Regions from separate parts of the Homo sapiens genome. Here all the other regions are linked to region 3. The links are contacts of gene promoters, found by promoter capture Hi-C in human tissues and cell types (Jung and others, 2019). All regions are on one chromosome and are shown on one strand. Each heading gives the region's core, a stretch centred on a gene start or on the middle of the fragment in contact. The rest is flanking DNA. Distances are from core to core; before and after follow the strand shown. Region 1 holds the start of KRTAP5-3 (keratin associated protein 5-3). Region 2 has its middle 8.3 kb from the start of FAM99B. Region 3 holds the start of SYT8 (synaptotagmin 8).

Region 1 (4,165 bases), core at 947-3,446, 230 kb after region 3:
TGCAGCCCCCAGTCACGTACCCCCTGCTTGCTCAATCGATCACGACCCTCTCACACAGACCCCCTTAGAGTTGTAAGCCCTTAAAAGGGACAGGAATTGCTCACTTGGGGAGCTTGGTTTTTGGAGACCTGAGTCTGCCAATGCTCCCAGCTGAATAAAGCCCTTTCCTTCTACAATTCAGTGTCTGAGGGGTTCTTGTCTGCGGCTCGCCCTGCTACAGAAACACTATGCGGTGATTACAAAAGAAGAAGAAGGCCAGGCGTGGTGGCTCATGCCTGTAATCCCAGCACATTGGGAGGCTGGGGCAGGTGGATCGCTTGAGCCCAGGAGGTCGAGGCTGCAGTGAGCCATGAGCGCACCACTCTGCACTCCAGCCTGGGTGACAGAGCAAGACCCTGTCTCAAAAAAAAAAAAAAAAAAAAAAAAAGAAGAAGAGCAAATCATTGACACACAGAATAACATCGTGAGGGAAAGAAACCAGAGTACATTTTTAATGATTTCATTTTTGCAACATTCAACAACAGGCACAACTGGTCAGCAGAGCTGTGCCTGGAGCGATGGGCAGGAAGGGAAGGCGGCGAAAGGGAAACTTCTGGGGGTGAAGCAGTTGGTCATGGTTGGAGTGATGGGCACACGAGTACATGTTTAGCGGAACTCATGGAATTGTACACTCAAAATATGTGCAGAGCCCAGGAGACCAAGGCTGCAGTGAGCTAGGATCACACCACTGCCCTCCAGCCCGGGCGACAGAATGCGACCCCGTCTCAAAAAAAAAAAAAAAAAAATGCAGCCCAAGCCTGGTGGCTCATGCCTGTAATCCCAACACTTTGGGAGGCCAAGGCAGGTGGATCACCTGAGGTCAGGGGTTCGAGACCAGCCTGGCGAACATAGTGAAACCCCGTCTCTACTAAAAATACAAAATTAGCTGGGTGTGGTGGTGGGTGCCTGTAATCCCAGCTACTTGGGAGGCTGAGGCAGGAGAATTGCTTGAACTCGGGAGGCAGAGGTTGTAGTGAGCTGAAATTGCATCACTGCACTCCAGCCTGGGTGACAGAGGGAGACTCAGAAAAAAAATTTTTTTTCACTGCATGTAAATTTTACCTTAATAAAAAATTAAAATTTGGCTGGGTGCAGTGGCTCACACCTGTAATCCCAGCACTTTGGGAGACTGAGGCGGGTGGTTCACCTGAGGTCAGGAGTTCGAAACCAGCCTGCCCAACATGGTGAAACTCTGTCTTCACTAAAAATACAAAAAAATTAGCCAGGCCTGGTGGTGGGCGCCTGTAATTCCAGCTACTGGGGAGGCTGAGGCAGGAAAATTGCTTGAACCCAGGAGGCAGAGATTGCAGTGAGCCGAGATTGCGTCACTGCACTTTAGCCCTGGTGACAAGAGCGATACTCCTTCTCAAAAAAAAAATATTAAAATTAATCTTTTAGAAAATAAAAGTGTGTTAGAGAGGTTGGCTAATCAAAATTTTTGTAGCCTTCAAGAAGAATAAACTTGAAGAATATCCATTGATTTGTAGAATTTTTACAAAGAATTAATAGAGGAAAACTCAAAAGCATTAGAAAGGGTCCTGTTCCTCTGTTCCCTCTGTGAGCCCAGCTTGCCTGAAGGGAACGTGGGTCTAATCCGTGTCTGGAGGAGTGAGCCAAACCGCAGGAGGAAGAGGTAAGAAAGACAAAGGAGAACCAGGGCCACACTCAAATCCATGCTCTTCAAAACTTTGTTTTACAGATTTGACAAAATATTTATACTTGAAGTTTTTAAGCGGTGGAACCTATAGACAGCCTTTCTTTCAGCTTATTTTTTTAATTTTTATTTTATTTTATTTTTTACCAAATGACCATCCTTGATATAAACACCAATGCCAGGGGGTGGAGGGTCTGCATCGCTGAGGAGAGCCCTGAGCACCAAGGACAATGGTCCACCCTTCGGCCAAGCAACCACCGCCTCCCAGGCTCCTGGGACACCCACTGGAGAGGGAGCCCAGTGTCTTCTAACAAAGGGAAACACCTATGAGGAAGAGGCCAAATTTAGAAACCAAGGAAAGGACAGCTTGGCTTGAGCTGATGGTGGCTCATGGGATTGTGGAGAGATTAAAAATAACACTTGTGCATGTGAAATAGCAGAAACAACAACAGAAGTATTCACGTGTTCAGTATAAACACCTGGGCAGGAATATAAAGAGCCCGGGCTCAGAGAACTCCACACCTGCACACCTCCCTCTCACCTGCTCCTCTACCTGCTCCACCCTCAACCCACCAGAACCATGGGCTGCTCTGGCTGCTCTGGAGGCTGTGGCTCCAGCTGTGGGGGCTGTGGCTCCAGCTGTGGGGGCTGTGGCTCCGGCTATGGGGGCTGTGGCTCCGGCTGCTGTGTACCTGTCTGCTGCTGCAAGCCCGTGTGCTGCTGTGTGCCAGCCTGTTCCTGCTCCAGCTGTGGCTCCTGTGGGGGCTCCAAGGGGGTCTGTGGCTCTTGTGGGGGCTGCAAGGGGGGCTGTGGCTCCTGTGGAGGCTCCAAGGGGGGCTGTGGCTCCAGCTGCTGTGTGCCCGTCTGCTGCTCCTCCAGCTGTGGCTCCTGTGGGGGTTCCAAGGGGGTCTGTGGATTTCGTGGGGGCTCCAAGGGGGGCTGCGGTTCTTGTGGCTGCTCCCAGTGCAGCTGCTATAAGCCCTGCTGCTGCTCCTCAGGCTGTGGGTCATCCTGCTGCCAGTCCAGCTGCTGCAAGCCCAGCTGCTCCCAGTCCAGCTGCTGTAAGCCCTGCTGTTCCCAGTCCAGCTGCTGTAAGCCCTGCTGCTGCTCCTCAGGCTGTGGGTCATCCTGCTGCCAGTCCAGCTGCTGCAAACCCTGCTGTTCCCAGTCCAGCTGCTGTAAGCCCTGCTGCTGCTCCTCAGGCTGTGGGTCATCCTGCTGCCAGTCCAGCTGCTGCAAGCCCTGCTCCTCCCAGTCCAGCTGCTGTGTCCCAATTTGCTGCCAGTGCAAGATCTGAGGCTCTGCCCACAAACCTCAGTGGGTCCTACAGATCCGGGCTCTCCAGGAATGATTGCAGCTGTGTCCTGAATTCCTGAAGCACGTCTCTGAATCTGTCCTCCTCTGGACTAAGGCAGCCTAGCGTCCAGGGCTCAGTACTCAGCCGCTCAGCCTCTGAGGTCATGAGGGCTTCTGGCATGCTGGGTCCTGCCCATCAACCCTCCCGGAATCCCGTCTTCCTTTCCTGACCCCACCACTTCAACCTTCTCAGGGCTTCAAGATCCCACATCCCTGGGCCCCTCCTGTGAGCCTGCTGGAAACACGCTGACACTGGAATCCTCCGACCTGCTGCCGCCTCTCCCCGGTCCCCGCAACCTCCTGGCTCCTCCCCGCTTCGTCTTCATCCTGCCTGAGCTGCCACCGCTCCGATTGCTTTTGGAGTTGACCTAGAGGACTCGGAATTATTGGAGACCCCAGGATCCTCTCCTGAGGAGGAGGGGCGCCCAGTCTCCTCTTCTACCTCCGACCTGGCCCTGTTTCTTTCCCCAGGGCTTCGCCTTGTAAGTGCCTAGGCTAGATCTTCTAAATAAATACGATCTGCACCTCCCACGAGTTTGCATTGTGATTCTTTTGTTTCAACTTCTGTGTGATTAGAGAAATGTACACTTTCCACAGAGTTGCACTCCCAGGCATTTGGGAACCCCCCGTACCCTGCTGTGTGAGTTTGCTAGGGCTGCTCCACAAACCGTGTGGCTTAAGCAACAGGAGTGGATTGTCTCACAGTCTGGAGTCCGGAATCCGCCATCGAGGTGCCTCAGGGCCGGGTCCTCCTGAGGCCTCCCTCCGTGGCTTACTGATGCCGCCATCCCTATATCCTCACGTACTCATCCCTCTGTGTGTGTCTGCGTCCTCATCTCTTTGCATAAGGACACAGATTAGACTAGGGCCCACCCTACTCCATTAGGTCCATGTTTGAACTAATCACCCCTGTAAAGACCTATCTTCAAATAAGGTGCCATTCTGAGATACTGCGTTGAGGACTCCAACATATGAACCAGGGGGCACAACTCAGCCGTGGCATCCACTTGGCTTGGGGCGTCTCCGTCTTTCCCATCTTCCAGGATACAGAATTGGGAGGCCCCTTGGGCTTCTCTCCCCCACAAGTCGCCAAATCCCTCAGCATCTCCTGGAAGG
Region 2 (4,053 bases), core at 576-3,075, 160 kb after region 3:
TGGCCAGGGTGGTTTCGAACTCTTGACCTCAAGTGACCTGGCCTCCTCAGCCTCCCAAAGTACTGGGATTACAGGTGTGAGCCACTGTGCCCGGCTGCCCATAGAATTCTATAATTTTAAAATTATAAATGGGAAATGTTGTCATGTGGTATTTTCTCTACATAGTGTCTAGAAAATCCGTTGATTTATAATGTTGTATCTTTACTCAGCTTTTGTTCTAGTTGTTTCATTTCTTCCTTTTAAATATTTTGAACTGTATTTAGTTTTTAGTGTGTCCCAATGCTATCATTCAAAACAATGTTTAATAAGACAGGTAGTAGCTGCTTCTCCTAATGTTTCTATGTGACTTTTAATATCACTTCCCGAGGGATATTCTTCAGAAGTTAGATATTAATAGCTTTTCAAGTTTTTCTTTTTTTCTAACATAAACGAATGCTGAACCATAGCAAGCTTTCGAACTTTGTTGAACTTTACCAGCTTTTGCAGCTAATACTTGAGTAGTCATAGGTTTCATCCTTTGTGAATTTCCAGAATCACATAAATAGACCCACTGCTCTTCCTGCCTCGCTAGAATAAACCATACTTGAGCTCAGTGTCTGGCACATGGCAGTTGCTCAATAGATATCTGTTGCGTAAAATGAACGAAGGGGCAAGAACATGGAGAAAACCACCTCTGTGGTTCAGGCATGAAGGGCCTGCTGCAATGGAGCTGTAGGGGCACTGAGGAAACCCTCCCTGGGGCCGGGCGTGGTGGCTCACACCTGTAATCCCAGCACTTTGGGAGGCCAAGGCGGGCAGATCACGAGGTCAGGAGTTCGAAACCAGCCTGGCCAACGTGGCAAAACCCCATCTCTAATAAAAATACAAAAAAATTAGCCCAGCGTGGTGATACACGCCTGTAGTCCCACCTACTTGGGAGGCTGAGACAGGAGGATGGCATGAACCCGGGAGGTGGAGCTTGCAGTGAGCTGAGATCACGCCACTGCACTCCATCCTGGGCGACAGAACAAAACTCTGTCTCAAAAAAAGAAAAAAGAAAATCCTCCCTGGTCCCCAGCCCCAGGCTTCAGCACCAGGTAAGGGTGAGCTTGCCTAGGAGGCCTCGCAGTCTCTGACGCCCTGAGGTAATGGCGGCCACACCTCACCCTGACCCGGCCCACCCATGGCCCAGGCTGGCACAGATCCCACATTCATACCCAGAAGAAGGGGATCCAAAGCCATCTGGGGCATAAAGGCTACCTGCCTCCGTCTCTATTATTCTCTGGACACAGTGTCTGAAATTCAATTAAAATTTATGAGATAGCAAGGAAGGAAGGTAAAATGAACCATGGCCATGTGATAAAACAATTAATAGAATCCAACTTTGAGATGACTCCAATGTTGACACTGTTGCACAGGGACTTTAAAATAACTCACAGGCCAGGTGCGGTGACTCACTCCTGCAATCCCAGCACTCTGGGAGGCCGAGGTGAGCGGATCATGAGGTCAGGAGTTCGAGACCAGCCTGGCCAACAAGGTGAAACCCCATCTCTACTAAAAATACAAAAATTAGCTGGGCATGGTGGCAGGTGCCTGTGGTCCCAGTTACTCGGGAGGCTGAGGCAGGAGAATCGCTCGAACCCGGGAGGCAGAGCTTGCAGTGAGCTGAGATTACATCACTGTACTCCAGCCTGGGTGACAGAGCTAGACTCCATCTCAAAAAAACAAATAAATAAATAAAAATAACTGTGATGGGTATGTTTAGTCAATATGCATTAACAGGTGAGGAATTTCAACAGATAAATGAAAACTGAAAAAAACTAGAACACTGTTTTTATTTATTTATTTTTGAGATGGAGTCCCACACTGTTGCCCAGGCTGGAGTGCAGTGGTGTGATCTTGGCTCACTGCAACCTCTGCCTCCCATGTTCGAGTGATTCTCCTGCCTCAGACTCCCCAGTACTGGGATTACAGGCGTGTGCCACCATGCCCAACTATGTTTTGTATTTTTAGTAGAGACGGGGTTTCACCATGTTGGTCAGGCTGGTCTTGAACTCCTGACCTCAGGTGATCCACCCACCTTGGCCTCCCAAAGTGCTGGGATTATAGTCCCAGCTACTTTGGAGGCTGAGGCAGGAGGATCTCTTGAGCCCAGGAGTTAGAGGCTGCAGTGAGCTGTGATCGAACCACTGCACTCCTGCCTGGGCAACAGAGCGTGGCCCTGTCTCAAAAAAAACAAAAGTCAAATGGAAATAGCCTCTCCACCACCGCCCCCCCACCAACAATATCAACATTCTTATCATAGGCTAATTAACACACTGGAAAGAACTAAGGAAAGAATCCATAAACTGGGAGACAGGTGAGTAGAAGTCATCCAAAATGAACACAAAGAGAAAAAAGACAAAGAGAGAGAACTAAATCAAGCATCCAAGACCTTTAAAACACTTCAACACACTCTAGTGAATGTCCACTTATGATCCTAAGAGGAAAGAAGAAATCGTGGAAGAAAAGCTACTTGGAGAGATGGTGGCTGAGAGTCTCCCAAAGCTAGTCAAAGACAAAAAAAATCACATATTTGAGAATTTTGGAGAGCCCTAAGCAGAATAAACACAAACACTCCTGTTAGAACTAATAAAAAATCCAGCAAAGGTGCAGAGTGTAGTATCAATACACAAAAATCCACTGAATTTCTATACATTAGTAATAGACAATCTGAAAATGAAATTAAGAAAATTTTAAATAATAATAGAATAAAATACAGAAGCATATACGTAACCAAAGAAGTATAAGAGTTAAATGCTAAAACCCCCAAATCCTGCTGAGAGGAATTAAAGAAAACATGAGCAACTGGGGAGGCCGCCCGTGTTCATGGGCCAGAGGCACAATCACGTTAACATGGCAATTTGTAAATCCAATATAATCCCTGTCAAAATCCAGCAGGCATTTGTGCAAAATTTGACAAATTGATCCTAATATTTACAAATGAAAATGAAAGGAAAGCCACCGATTAGGATAAAATATTGACAAATCATATAACTGATAAAAGATTGTATCCAGAATAGAAAAAAGAGCTAAAAACTTCATGACAAAAATAACTTAAAGGACCCGGTATGGATAAAACAATTTTTTAAAAGAACAAAATTTAGTAACAAAGACAGTCTCGTATTGGTTTCACTGTAGCCACACAGATCAATGAAACAGGATCAAAAGTCCAGGAAAAAAAAAAAACGTTTTATGTAGATTGTCAATTGATTTTTGACAAAGGCAACAAACAGAACTCAGTCGGGGGACAGACAGTCTTTTCCACAAATAGTGCTGGGACATCTGGATAGCCACATGAGAAAGAAGTTTGGAACCCTATCTCATGTCCTCCACAAGAATTAACACAAAGAGGGTTACATGAAAACCGGGAACTAAAACTTGTAGAAAACATGGGAGAAAGTCAAGGAAGCTGTGGGCCAGGTGCAATTCCTTAGCCATGACATCAAAAATAAGATCGTAAAATAAAACATTGATAGGGTGAACTTCATCGAATTTTTTTCAAATGTGTGCTTCAAAAGACACTAACAAGAAATCGGAAGATAAGTCGCAGATCTGGAGGATGTATTTGCAAACCATATCACTGATGAAAGATTGAACCCAGAATGGAAAAGGAACTAAAAAATTAATGACAAAAACAGCTCCGTTAGAAACAGGCAAAACATCTGCGTAGACATCCAATTTCATAATTTGTGAGAAATGTATTTAGTACCGTACACCTCTCAGTAACAGCTGCTTCACTCTGCCCCGTCCTTCTAATGTGCAATGTTTTTATTACTTTTTAATAATTATGATTATCTCTTTAACCCCAAATTTATGGTAATAGACTATTTGGTTTCCAAACATACAATATTTGCACTATCCCTTTTGTGACTTAATTTCTAATTTTTTTTTTGCCCTGTGGTTGGAAAATATATTTCTGTATGTTGATCATTTGACTGTCAGAAAGCTGCATTGTGGCTTAATGTTTTAATCCTTTTGTAGCCTTCTTTCAGTCCACATACAATTGGCTTGCATTTTCCCTTCCTGTTATTG
Region 3 (3,691 bases), core at 1-2,500:
GTGCACTTTTGTCTCATGTCTGTGTCCGGCCTGGGTGGAGACGCTGACCCGGGCATAGGGGTCCACGGTGCCCCCAGGCCTCAGGTCGGCTGCCTGCCTCAGGCCCACCCTGATCTGGGAGCCAGCGGGGTGGGCTCAGCCAAGGGCCCCTGCCCTGTCAGCTCCCCACCACCCAGGGCATGGGGTCTGCCCTTCCCCCGTCACCCTTTCCGGAAACTCGCAGAACCGCTGGTCCTGCGCAGCGGGGCCCTTCACCTCCTGGCTTCCAAAGTCGAACTCCAGGGAGAGCTGCAGGCACCCCCATTGCTGAGCATCCCCCGGGCTGGACTCCAGGCCATCCACATCAGGTTGCACCTGGAGTGAGTTGGGACAAGGGGCAGGTGGTGCTGACATCATGCCTCATCAGAGCCCTGGGCTCCCGGGCAGCCCTTGCATGACATGGGTCAAGACCCCCCGCCTCCAGGCCAGGCCACCCAACAGGCACAAATCGTCGGCTTCGCTCTGTGAGACCGGCCAAACCCACCCAAAACGTGGCATCTGGGGTACCCCCTGCCTTCCTCAAGAACCCGCTGTGGCTCCCTCGGGCCCATGGGGCAGCCCCTGTTGCATGGCCTCCTTCTCACCTCTGTTCACCCACTTTCCCTGCCAGGAAGGTCCTCAACGCCCTGCCTCTGTGGGGGTTAAACCATCCCTGGGGCTGAACTCGCCTCGCTGCCCTGGGCTCTGGAGCCTGGATTTCAAGCCCTCTCTGGACTGAGTGAGCAAGGAGCCGCTCCTCACCAGGTGGGTGGTGGTGGTGCCGCGGGCACTGCCCAGACCCACGGACTCCTTGTCCCTGGGCTTCTTCCTGTGGCGGCGGCAGCAGCAGCAGGCAGCACAGAGGAGGCAGGAGACGAGGAGGACGCCCGCGGCAAGGGCGCCGGCAATGAGAGCCCAGCGGGGCCCTGGGGTAGAGGCCAGGCTGAGTGCATCTGTGGACAGCTGCAGCCCCCACTTGGCTGGGTTATCCCCACACCCCTCTTGGGAATCCCACAACTCACAGGGGGTCCCGGCGACAAGGTCTGGAATAAGCCCAGGTATAGCTGTGGTGCCAGCTGGGGCCGGGGCACTGGGAGAGACTGGTGGGTGCCCCATCTTTCTACCCTGCTGGTTTGGAAGAAGCGGCCCAGGAGGCTGGGTCAGCTGGGAGGGTGGCCCCTCCGGCCCCTGCCCGCTACCCCATCTGACTAGCAGCAGCCAGTGCTGGGTCTGCCAGGGCAAGGAGGCAGCACGGGGTGGCCAGGGGCGAGGGTTCTGTGCAGCAGGAAGCTGAAGGGAGGGAGGCTCTGGACCCTGGCCAAAGCTCCAGCTTAGCTGCCCAGGCCCAGCCTCCCAGCCACCTCCCAGCAGCCCCCAGCCCCAGCCAAGCAGGCAGGGCCTGGGCAGCCTAGTCCCTGCCTTCACCGGACCTCAGAGCACCCTTGCCCCCACTGTAGGATGCGTCCTCCACCAGGAAGCTCTCTCCCTCCCTGCTTCTCTCTCCTGGGCCCTGGACCCTGGGCCCTGCCTGGGGGTCCCATCTCATCCCTGGGGGTCTCATCTCTGCGGTCCCATCACTTCCTTGCCTCTACCCCAGCACGCACCACAGCTGGGGCCCACCATGGTTTGCCAGCCATGCAGGTGGAGCATGTTCACTGCAGCCCCCAGGAACTTGGAAGCCCAGAGGGGTCTGCAGGGTCATGGCGGGAGGAGCAGGGCTGGCTGTCGGCGGAGCTCACTGAGCAGGCCTGGGCTAAAGGTGCATTCCTGGCAGGGGCTCAGGGCCGCAGCGCCTGAGGATGAAGGTGAGGTGGTGGCAGGTAGGGGCAGGGTGCAGCTGGGAGCGGCCAGAACATTCCACACACACTGACTCAGCCGCTGCCTGGACTCGTCCACCTGCCTGCCTGGCCACCCTTCGGCATGTGGGTGGGAAGGAAGGTGGGGCGGGCGCAGCTGCTGGCCCCTGTACCCGCCTGCCTAGGGCCTGGGGAGGGAGCACACCTGGCTGGGCTGGCTCCTGTCACCTACAGGCAGGGGAACCAGGGTGCTACATGGGGCCTACGGTGACCCCAGGCCCAGGGTGACTCCCCAGCTCAGCTCTTCCCTGACTCCACCCGCTCCAGAGAGCAGCAGCCAGCCAGGAGACTCTGTTCCTCCACATTGGCGCCTCCCCTGCTTTGCCCACAAGAGCCTGGGACCCCTCTTGCCATGTCCAAGTCAGCCTGGCCTCAGGGGCCCAGCCCAGGCCATCCCATCGGGAATAAGCAGCTGTTGAGGCCAGATACCCTCACCTCTGCAGCCCCCCAGTCTGGGGCAGAGCAAGGAGACAGACAGAAAGGGACCCTGCCATGACTCCAGACACACACACACACACACACACACACACACACACACACACACACACACGCACGCGCACACAGCATCAATGCCCCACTCCCTGGCAGGCTGGGAGAGGCAGCTGCACTCCCAGAACGGACCCAAACCCCCAGTGTTCAGATGAGGGGGCTGCAGCTCAAGGAGGGGAGGGAGGGTCCAGGTTCCAGCCCCACACGCATGTTGACCCTGTGAGGTCAGCAGGCCAGGTGTTTTACAGACGAGTGGACCGAGGCTGGGAGCTCTAGTTTTGTGGCTCTGGAGGCCAGCATGGCCTGGGAAGCCCAGCCTGTCCCCAGAACACAGGGGCCAGCACAATGGAGGGATTATAGGTACAAAAAGGAGATGCGGAGGTCAGGGCCAGCTTTCCAGGCTGCACCCTGTGCGCAGGGCCCCATGCTCAGAGGGGTCCCTGCTTGGTTTAATGCGTGCTGGGGCCATCTTGAAATTCTTAATTTTGGAACAAGATGCTGCACATTTTCATTCTGCACTGGGCCTCACAAATGACGGAGCTTGTCGAGTTCGGGGGACCCTTTGGGTGAGTCCCCTGCAGATGCAGTGTGGGTGTGCAGTGAAGCTCACGGGCCTCGGCAGCCCCTCAGCTCCTGGGGGACACTCCCAGGTGGGTCCGGCGTCCCACACGTGGCTGGCGGAGCGCTCCTACTGGTGGTGGCTGATGGAATGGGCTGGGTCCGCAGGGTCCCTGGAGCGGGACTGTGCCGGCCAGATTCAAACAGGCCACTGCCTCCTCCCTACGTGGAGTTTCAAGGCAACTTCTCTTTTTGAAATGTCAGAGCCTGTATACATGCTGAGATTAAAGTAGCTTCACTCCAGATTTTTATGGTTGAGATTCCGGATAAGTTGCCAATACAGAATCTCCATCTGTGAGTGCGGGCATGTGTGCGTGTGCGTGTGCGTGCGCCCCTCCCCTGTGCCCCCGCTTTGCTGGCGTCCCCCCTCCTTTAGTCTAAGAACAGTCAGGGCCGGGCGGGGAGAGCTCCCCTGCAGTGATTTGCCGCGGCCGGCCAGCGGCACTCCCGGGCCAGCCTGGTGACCTTGTCCCCAGAGGAGCACAGGGGCCACCCAGAAGCTGCTCCGGAGAACCCCAGGACCCTGGGGGCGCTGGCTGCCGATGCTGGGGGTCCCAAAGCCTGGGGAGGTGCGGGGTCCCTCCGGACCGCCGGGACCCCAGGGAGGTGCAGGTGCAGCGGGCGCATGGCCACCAGGTGGCGCCGTCCGCCCCTCGGGACCCGGCCTCCCTCATGGCTCCCGGGGACAGTGCCCTGGAGACCCTTGGGCG

The links. Contacts are between HindIII fragments. The study calls those that stand out against the background at their distance.
Region 1: a contact is called between the fragment with the promoter of KRTAP5-3 here and the fragment with the promoter of SYT8 in region 3, in 1 of the 25 tissues and cell types used here (liver).
Region 2: a fragment that was not itself captured here is called in contact with the fragment with the promoter of SYT8 in region 3 in 5 of the 25 tissues and cell types used here (bladder, mesenchymal stem cells, mesendoderm cells and 2 more).

Annotation. Positions count from the first base shown.
Region 1 is chr11:1,606,494-1,610,658 of GRCh38, reverse strand. It overlaps KRTAP5-3 (keratin associated protein 5-3), which reads left to right and starts at 2,196. Exons shown (of 1, transcript NM_001012708.2): 1 at 2,196-3,094. The coding sequence starts at 2,274. The coding sequence ends at 2,990. The HindIII fragment of the contact is 8,426 bases long and covers 1-4,165 here.
Region 2 is chr11:1,675,334-1,679,386 of GRCh38, reverse strand. No RefSeq gene overlaps it. Among named protein-coding and RNA genes, the nearest start is that of FAM99B, 8.3 kb to the left of the region's middle. The HindIII fragment of the contact is 6,262 bases long and covers 1-4,053 here.
Region 3 is chr11:1,832,549-1,836,239 of GRCh38, reverse strand. SYT8 (synaptotagmin 8) reads right to left here and starts at 1,250. Exons shown (of 8, transcript NM_001394072.1): 1 at 1,041-1,250; 2 at 781-944; 3 at 256-354; 4 at 1-114. The coding sequence starts at 1,134. RefSeq lists enhancers at 2,060-2,673, 2,674-3,289 and silencers at 3,392-3,451, 3,512-3,691. The HindIII fragment of the contact is 28,273 bases long and covers 1-3,691 here.